Linked DNA regions of Homo sapiens: region 1 is linked to region 2. Evidence: promoter capture Hi-C in human tissues and cell types (Jung and others, 2019). All regions are on one chromosome and are shown on one strand. Each heading gives the region's core, a stretch centred on a gene start or on the middle of the fragment in contact. The rest is flanking DNA. Distances are from core to core; before and after follow the strand shown. Region 1 holds the start of HIGD1B (HIG1 hypoxia inducible domain family member 1B). Region 2 has its middle 5.1 kb from the start of CCDC43.

Evidence for each region. The method cuts DNA at HindIII sites, captures the fragments that hold promoters and counts their contacts. A contact is called where the count stands out against the background at its distance.
Region 1: a contact is called between the fragment with the promoter of HIGD1B here and a fragment that was not itself captured in region 2, in 1 of the 25 tissues and cell types used here (aorta).

Annotation. Positions count from the first base shown.
Region 1 is chr17:44,846,145-44,850,699 of GRCh38, forward strand. HIGD1B (HIG1 hypoxia inducible domain family member 1B) reads left to right here and starts at 1,739. Exons shown (of 3, transcript NM_016438.4): 1 at 1,739-2,108; 2 at 3,110-3,244; 3 at 4,188-4,332. The coding sequence starts at 2,009. The coding sequence ends at 4,252. EFTUD2 (elongation factor Tu GTP binding domain containing 2) reads right to left here. Exons shown (of 28, transcript NM_004247.4): 28 at 3,804-4,555. The HindIII fragment of the contact is 5,766 bases long and covers 1-3,473 here.
Region 2 is chr17:44,692,822-44,696,952 of GRCh38, forward strand. No RefSeq gene overlaps it. Among named protein-coding and RNA genes, the nearest start is that of CCDC43, 5.1 kb to the left of the region's middle. The HindIII fragment of the contact is 6,435 bases long and covers 1-4,131 here.

The sequences.
Region 1 (4,555 bases), core at 489-2,988, 150 kb after region 2:
TAAAAGACTGAATCTAGTTAGGGGCTCCCCTCCATTTGGTCTTTCCTTACTTTCCAGTGCCTGGAGCTTTGGCTTGGGACTCAGCAGACTGGGGGTTAAGACCGATCCCCTGTCCTTTCCCCTCCCCTCTCCATCCCTGACTTCAAAGTTTTCATAAAGCCCAAGTCACTGCTTCCCTGACCCCATAGTGGCAGCTCCATCTCAGCTTTTGGTCGGTTCAAAACAGCAGACGCTGAGCCCTGGCCTGGCCGCCCGTTCTCCTCGTTCTAGCCATCTCTTAGGGTAAGCACCAGCATGCCAACGACCTGGGGGGCCACCAGTCCTTGCTCCTCCAGGAGAGGAGGGCTAACTAGGATAGAAGCTGACTCAAGGGCAGGCACAGTGGTTCATGCCTGTAATCCCAGAACTTTGGGAGGCTGAGGTGGGCAGATCGCCTGAGACCAGGAGTTCAAGATTGGCTGGGCGACATGGCAAAACTGTCTCTACAAAAAATACAAAAATTAGCTGAGCGTGGTAGCATGCACCTGTAGTCCCAGCTACTTGAGAGGCTGAGGTGGAAGGACTGCTTGAGTCTGGAGGGTCAAGCTTGCAGGGATTGACACTGCACTCCAGCCTGAGTGACAAAGTGAGACCCTGCCTAAAAAAAAAAAAAAAGAAGAAAAAGAAAAGAGAGTTTGCCGTATGGTTAGGCTTAGAAGGTATCCCATTGGACAGGGCACGGTGGCTCATACCTGTAATCCCTGCACTTTGGGAAGCCGAGGTGGGCGGATCAAGAGGTCAGGAGTTCAAGACCAGCCTGGCTATCAGGGTAAGACCCCGTCTCTACTAAAAAAATACAAAAAATTAGCTGGGCATGGTACACACCTGTAATCCCAGCTACTTGGGAGGCTGAGGCAGAATTGCTTCAACCAGGACCTGGGAGGCGGAGGTTGCAGTGAGCCGAGATGGCACCACTGCACTCCAGCCTGGGCTACAGAGCGAAACTCCGTCTCAAAAAAACAAAAAAGGGCCGGGCGCGGTGGCTCACGCCTGTAATCCCAGCACTTTGGGAGGCCGAGGCAGGTGGATCATGAGGTCAGGAGATCGAGACCATCCTGGCTAACAAGGTGAAACCCCGTCTCTACTAAAAATACAAAAAATTAGCCGGGCGCGGTGGCGGGCGCCTGTAGTCCCAGCTACTCGGGAGGCTGAGGCAGGAGAATGGCGTGAACCCGGGAAGCGGAGCTTGCAGTGAGCCGAGATTGCGCCACTGCAGTCCGCAGTCCGGCCTGGGCGACAGAGCGAGACTCCGTCTCAAAAAGAAGGCATCCCATTGGCAGAACCCTTGTTTCCAGCCCAGGGATGAAGGTAGCCAGTTGGTAATTGTGAAGAACCTGCCTGGAAAGAGATGGACCTGGAAAAACAGGAGCAGCTCAGGAACCAGAATGTGTTCCTTAGTACTCATGTGCAAAATATATGCTAAATTACATGCAAATCAATGTCCAATCATTATAATCTCTGGCAATTTGGTAACTAATGCTGTTACACTATCTGGTCTAGGACATTTCTGGCTCCCTGGGGCCAGATCCTGCTCTGTAGCTCCCACAGGAGAAACCATCACAGACCAAAGGCCAGCGGGGGCCCCAGCACTCAAGGACTGTTTCTCCCACCACCATCTGTGGACTTTTCCAGCTGTTTTTCTTGGCCCAAGGATCACACCCATAGGGATGCAGATGGGGGAAGGGGAAGCTGAGAAAGCAGTGAAGACAGAATGAGCTGGGGAAGAGGCAGATGGTAGGAAATGGAGACGGAGAAATGGCACTAATGGCCCAGCCACCTGAGATGGGATACCTGGGAGGGACATCTTTTCAAGTAGAGGCTGTGTTGGGGCATGGTGAGAGAGGGTCTTAGCAGGTAACCTTCCTTTCCTCTCCAGACTGAGGAATCAGAGTTCTGATTGTGGAGTGCCTCTCTCTAGGACGGGGCTGCAGCATAGGAGTCTCAGCTGCTTACATCCAGGTCCAGGATTATGTCTGCTAACAGACGCTGGTGGGTACCACCTGACGACGAAGACTGTGTGTCTGAGAAGCTCCTGAGGAAGACTCGGGAATCTCCACTGGTGCCTATAGGTAAGTGAAGAAAGGAATGGGGTGCCGAGTAGGAGGCCTTCTCTGTCATGTCTCCTGGTACCCTCCAAAGAGAATGAAGCAGAGGTCAGAAAACTCAAGTGGTCCTACTCACGGAACAAGGGAAACAACAGCAAAGGTGCCAAGGGGCAAACCCTTACAATGAAATCAGGACGTCTGGATGGGTGGAGGTGGCAGCCAACTGAGTACATGGGATATGAGGAACCTGGAGCACCAACACCAAAGTGGGAAGGGTCAGAAGAACACCTTGGGGTCCCCCAGGGCTTCCTTCCTTATGGCCCTGGTAGAGTAGGAAAACAGCTGTACCAGGAGGTGGGAGCCAGCAGTGTGGCTCAAGGGCCCAGGGCGGAGCAAATTGGTGGGGAGGGGCTGTGTCGTGGTGATCAGCTATTTGTATCTGGGGGAGGGGCATCACTGGTGGTGATCAGCTATTTGTATATGGGGGAGGGGTGTCACGGGAGGGAGGCAGCCACTTTGAAAATGCCATTGAAGGGCAACAACTCAATATATATATATATATTTTTGAGATGGAGTTTCACTCGTTGCCCAGGCTGGAGTGCAATGGCACAGTCTCGGTTCACCACAACCCCTGCCTCCTGGGTTCAAGTGGTTCTCCTGCATCAGCCTCCTGAGTAGTTGGGATTATAGGCATGCACCACCACGCCCGGCTAATTTTGTACTTTTAGTAGAGACTGGGTTTCTCCATTTTGGTCAGGCTGGTCTCAAACTCCCAACTTCAGGTGATCCACCTGCCTCAGTCTCCCAAAAGTGCTGGGATTACAGGCGTGAGCCACCATGCCCCGGCAACAACTCAATATTCTAATGATCCCCCTAGGTCCCCCGCAACGCCCACCCCCCGCCACCAGATGCTGCATAAAACCAGCTGTTTATCCAGATGCCCAGCCTGCCTGGTAAGGTATCTCTCATCAGGGGAGTGCTGTGCATTGTGGCTGTGGCCCAGGGGCTGTGTTCTCTGCCCACAGGCTTAGGAGGCTGCTTGGTGGTAGCAGCATACAGGATTTACCGGCTGAGGTCTCGTGGTTCCACCAAGATGTCCATACACCTGATTCACACCCGAGTGGCAGCGCAGGCCTGTGCAGTGGGTGCAATCATGCTAGGTGAGTAGCTTTGTGGGGTCGCAGAATGAGGGCAAAACCGATTATGCAGTTTGTAGGTCTTTAAGTCCCAACAATTAAAAGGACTGTGCTTGGCTGGGCGCGGTGGTTCACGCCTGTAATCTCAACACTTTGGGAGGCCAAGGCGGGCAGATCATGAGGTCTGGAGAGAGAGACCATCCTGGCCAACATGGTGAAACCCCATATCTACTAAAAATACAAAAATTAGCTGGGCGTGGCGGCAGGTGCCTTTAGTCCCAGCTACTCTGGAGGCTTCGGCAGGAGAATTGCTTGAACCTGGGAGGCGGAGGCTACAGTGGGCTGAGATCCGCCACTGCACTCCAGCCCGGGTGACAGAGTGAGACTCTGTCTCAAAAAAAAAAAAAAAAAAAAAAAAGGACTGTGAATTAAGTTCTCCTGTTCTGGGCTCCACATCACATGCTTGGTGAAGCCCCTATACTGAGCCATCTTCCCTGTTTAGGCTCCTGTCCCAGGCCTGTGGGGACAGTGTCTCATGACAGTTTGCCCTAGGGGTGAGAAAAATCATGCAACAGAACAGATGTTGAATTTCTCTTCCTCTTGAGATTAAAAAGCAGACAGCCACTTGCTAACTGTGTGACAGTGGACAAATCTTTCTCACTGAGCCTCAGTTTCCTGATGTGTAACATGACAATAACCACCCCTGGCCTGCCTACCTTGCAGGCTGCTGTGAGGTTTCTCAGATACACAATACATGTGAAAGTGTTTCGTGAACTGTCAGATAAGTGGTTTCCCCAGGTTGTGTGGTCAGATGCTTGAAGCAGCTGTTGGGACCTGGGGCAGAAAGATGAGCGGGAAGCTGGACTCTCAAGGGAGCAGCTAGAGGTGAACCCCTAGGACGCCTGAGAGCCAGAGGACGGGTGAAGGGTTTGATGCCAAGGGGCATTATTTCTTTTCTCTCACACAGGTGCTGTGTACACAATGTACAGCGATTACGTCAAGAGGATGGCACAGGATGCTGGAGAGAAGTAGGACTCCTATAGGAGCCGGGGCTGTCCAACTCCCCTAACTCAATCCCTGGTACATTCCTAATAAAGCAGTTTTGAGGAAAATCAACAGACTCTTTTTCACTGGGGGAGAACAGAGTAAGGGACTGGTGGTAGCTGGGGAGAGGACTTGGAGTAAATGGCTGGAAATCAAAGTGCTCTGGCCCCCTACTCCAGGGCAAGGAAGATTCTTAGGGGAGGCAGCAGTTTCCTGAGGAGGTGGTGGGGTAGACTTCTGATCGCAGGAACCCAACAACTCCCAAGCCATCTTAGGTTCCACCCAGAAGCA
Region 2 (4,131 bases), core at 662-3,161:
GAGACCAGCCTGGCCAACTGGTGAAACCCCATCTCTACTAAAAAAATACAAAAAAATGGCCCTGCGCGGTGGCTCACACCTGTAATCCCAGCACTTTGGGAGGCCGAGGCGGGCAGATCACGAGGTCAGGAGATCGAGACCATCCTGGATAATAGGTGAAACCCCGTCTCTACTAAAAATACAAAAAAAAATTAACTGGGTGTGGTTGCGGGCGCCTATAGTCCCAGCTACTAGGGAGGCTGAAGCAGGAGAATGGCGCGAATCCGGGAGGCAGAGCTTGCAGTGAGCCGAGATCTGACCACTGCTCTCCAGCCTGGGCAACAGAGTGAGACTCCATCTCAAAAAAAAACAAAAAAAACAAAAAAATTAGCCAGCTATGGTGGTAGGCGCATGTAATCCCAGTTACTTGGGAGGCTGAGGCAGGAGAATTGCTTGAAACCAGGAGGCGGAGGTTACAGTGAGCTGAGATTACGCCATTGTACTCCAACCTGGGCAACAAGGGCAAAACTCTGTCTCAACAAAAAAAAAGAAAAAATTATATAAATGGATAAGCGACAAATTGAAAGCTTACAAAAAATAAAATACGCAAATTAAGATTGCAGTGAAATACCACGTCCGCTTTTCAGATCAAAAAAGTCTGATAATATGCTGTATTGAACTGTGCTTGGGTAAAAGACATTGGAAAATGTTAGAGCAGAAAGTAAATGGATCTGGTCTTGTTGGAGGACTGTTTGTTTGAAAAGACCCAGCATTTCTGCTTCTGGGAATTTGTTCATAAGTTATTCATTTATTTTTATCTTTACTTGTGGTAAAATACACAATTTGCCATCTTAACTATTTTTAAGTATACGATTTAATAGTGTTAAGTATTAATTATTTTTAAAATTTTTGGTTTAAACTGGGCGTGGTGCCTGTTTAAACTGGGCGTGGTTTAAACTGGGCGTGGTTGGCTGGGCGCGGTGGCTCACGCCTGTAATCCCCGCACTTAGGGAGGCCAAGGTGGGTGGATCACTGAGGTCAGGAGTTCAAGACCAGTCTAGCCAACATGGCAAAACCCTGTCTCTACTAAAAATATAAAAATTAGCCAGGTGTGGTAATGCATGCCTATAGTCCCAGCTACTTGGCCACTTGAGAAGCTGAGGCAGGAGATTCACTCGAATTCGGGACACGGAGGTTGCAGTGAGTTGAGATAATGCCACTGCATTCCAGCCTGGGCAACAGAGTGAGACTCTGTCTCAAAAAAAGAAAAAAATTTTGATTTAATATTTTGTATAATGGCCAGGCACACTGGCTTACACCTGTAATCCCAGTACTTTGGGAGGCTGACAAGGGAGGATTGCTTGAGGCCAGGAGTTCGAGACTAACCTGGTCAACATAATGAGACCCCAGCTCTACAAAAAAAAAAAGTGGTGGTGCATGTCTTTTGTCCTACCTACTCAGGAGGTTGAGGCAAGAGGATCACTTGAGCCCAGGAGCTCAAATTTACATGAGCTATGATGATGCCACTGCATTCTAGCCTGAACAACAGAACAAAACTCTGTCTTTAAAAAATAAAACTGTGCATTTGTGTAGAATCACATTTTTCTAAGGATATTCATTGTAGTGAAGCTTTTTGTAGTAAAAGAATAGTCTACATTTTATGTATATGAGACTGGTTCAAAAACTCTGGTAGCCACACAAAGAAGTATTGCACAGCTGTAAAAAAAAAAAAAAAAATGAACAAAGAGGCCGGGCGCGGTGGCTGGTGCCTGTAGTCCCAGCACTTTGGGAGGCCAAAGCAGGTGGATCACCTGAGGTCAAGAGTTCGAGACCAGCCTGGCCAACTAAAAATACAAAAATTAGCTGGGCATGGTGGTAAGCACCTGTAATCCCAGCTACTCGGGAGGCTGAGGCAGGAGAATCGCTTGAATCCAGGAGGCAGAGGTTGCAGTGAGAGGAGATCATGCCATTGCTCTCCAGCCTGGGCTACAGAGCAAGACTCCGTCTCGAAAAAAAAAAAAAAAAAAGAACAAAGAAGCTCTTTATGCACTGACATGTATCAAAGTTCGAGATACATTGTTTAAAAAGTACAGATCAACAATATGTAATGCTTGCCACCATCACTATTTAAAAAGAAGTTAGGGTAGGGGAATACATGTACATATGTGTCCTTGTATGTGCATAGGCTATCTCTGGAAAGATACACCAGGGATATGTGAGAATGGTTGTCCACTGAGGAGGAGAACTGAAGGAGACTGGTTTTGAACTGTTATATTTATTTACTTTGTATCTTTTTGTAAAAGAAAGCAAATTTGAAGCCCTTTCTCCAACCTCATTTTCTCCCCTCTCTCCCCAGATGTAACCACTATTCCTGAATTTGGTGTTTATTTTCTTCTTGAATGTTTTTAAACATAGTACACATTGCTACATATATAATACATATTACAACATATGGATGTATCCATAATATATCACATTGGTGTGCATGCTGTACTTTTCATTCTGCAATGTGCTTTTTCACTCAAGGTTGTTTAAAATATTTACCCATGTTGGGCCGGGCGCAGTCGCTCATGCCTGTAATCCCAGCACTTTGGGAGGCCTAGGCGGGTGGATCAGCTGAGGTCAAGAGTTTGAGACAAGCCTCACCAACATGGTGAAACCCCATCTCTACTAAAGCTACAAAAATTAACTGGGCGTGGTCACGCACGCCTGTAATCCCAGCTACTTAGGAGGCTGAGGCAGGAGAATAGCTTGAACCTGGGAGGCGGAGGTTGCAGTGAGCCAAGACTGCGCCACTGCACTCCAGCCTAGGTGACAGAGCAAGACCCTGTCTCAAAAAATATATACGTGTATATGGCCGGGCACGGTGGCTCATGCCTGTAATCCCAGCACTTTGGGAGGCCAAGGCGGGCGGATCACCTGAGGTCAGGGGTTCGGGACAAGCCTGACCAACATGGAGAAACCCCATCTCTACTAAAAATGCAAAATTAGCCAGGTTTGGTGGCACATGCCTGTAATCCCAGCTACTTGGGAGGCTGAGACAGGAGAATCGCTTGAACCCGGGAGGCGGAGGTTGCGGTTAGCCGAGATCGCGCCATTGCACTCCAGCCTGGGCAACAAAAGCGAAACCCCATCTCAAAAAAAAAAAGAAAAAAATATATATAATATATATGTATCTATATATATTTTATATATATCTTTACCCATGTTGATATATGTAGCTCTTATCCATCCATTTAAATCACTGCATAGTATTCCGTTGCTTTAATATGCTCCAGCTGATCCATTCCTCTGCCGATGGATGGTGAGGTTAGTTCCTAGTTTTCCAGTCAGTGCACCAGTTCACATTCTTAGGTGGTCCCCTTGCCCACCATGGGAAAGTTCCTCTAGATCAGTGAGCATCAGACATTTTTGCCACATACTCTTAGCAGTAAAAATATTCTCAGCATGTACACCTAATGCACTAATATGTAGTTATTTATGAATTATTTGTGTGAACTGCTATATCAAATTAGTATGTCCATCATAAAACATACAAAAAGAGAACTACAAAAAGGAGAAAATCGTTAAAAAATGAAGTAGGCCGGGCGTGATGGCTCACACCTGTAATCCCAACACTTTGAGAGGCCGAGGTGGGTGGATCACTTGAGGTCAGGGGTTCAAGACCAGCCTGGCCAACATGGTGAAACCGGGTCTGTACTAAAAATACAAAAATTAGCCGAGCAATGGTGGTGGGCATCTGTAATCCCAGCTACTCGGGAGTCTGAGGCAAAAGAATCGCTTGAACCCGGGGAGCGGAGGTTGCAGTGAGCCAAGATTGAACCACTGCACTCCAGGCCTAGGCGACAGAGCAAGACTCCGTCTGAAAAAAAAAAAAAAAGAAAGAAGTACATAATATAAATATTTATTATTTGTAGTATACCAAAAGTCCTTAGTAAAAATAATGTAGTTGAAGATGTTTCATTACCACCCCCACTTCTTTATTTATTTTTATTTTTAATTGTGGTAAAATATGTAATTTGGCATTTTAATCTTTTTTTTTTTTTTTTTTTTTGGTAGAGACAGGATTTCACCATGTTGACCAGGCTGATCTCGATCTCCTGGCCTCAAGCAATCCGTCCACCTCAGCCCCCCAAAGTGCTGGGATTACAG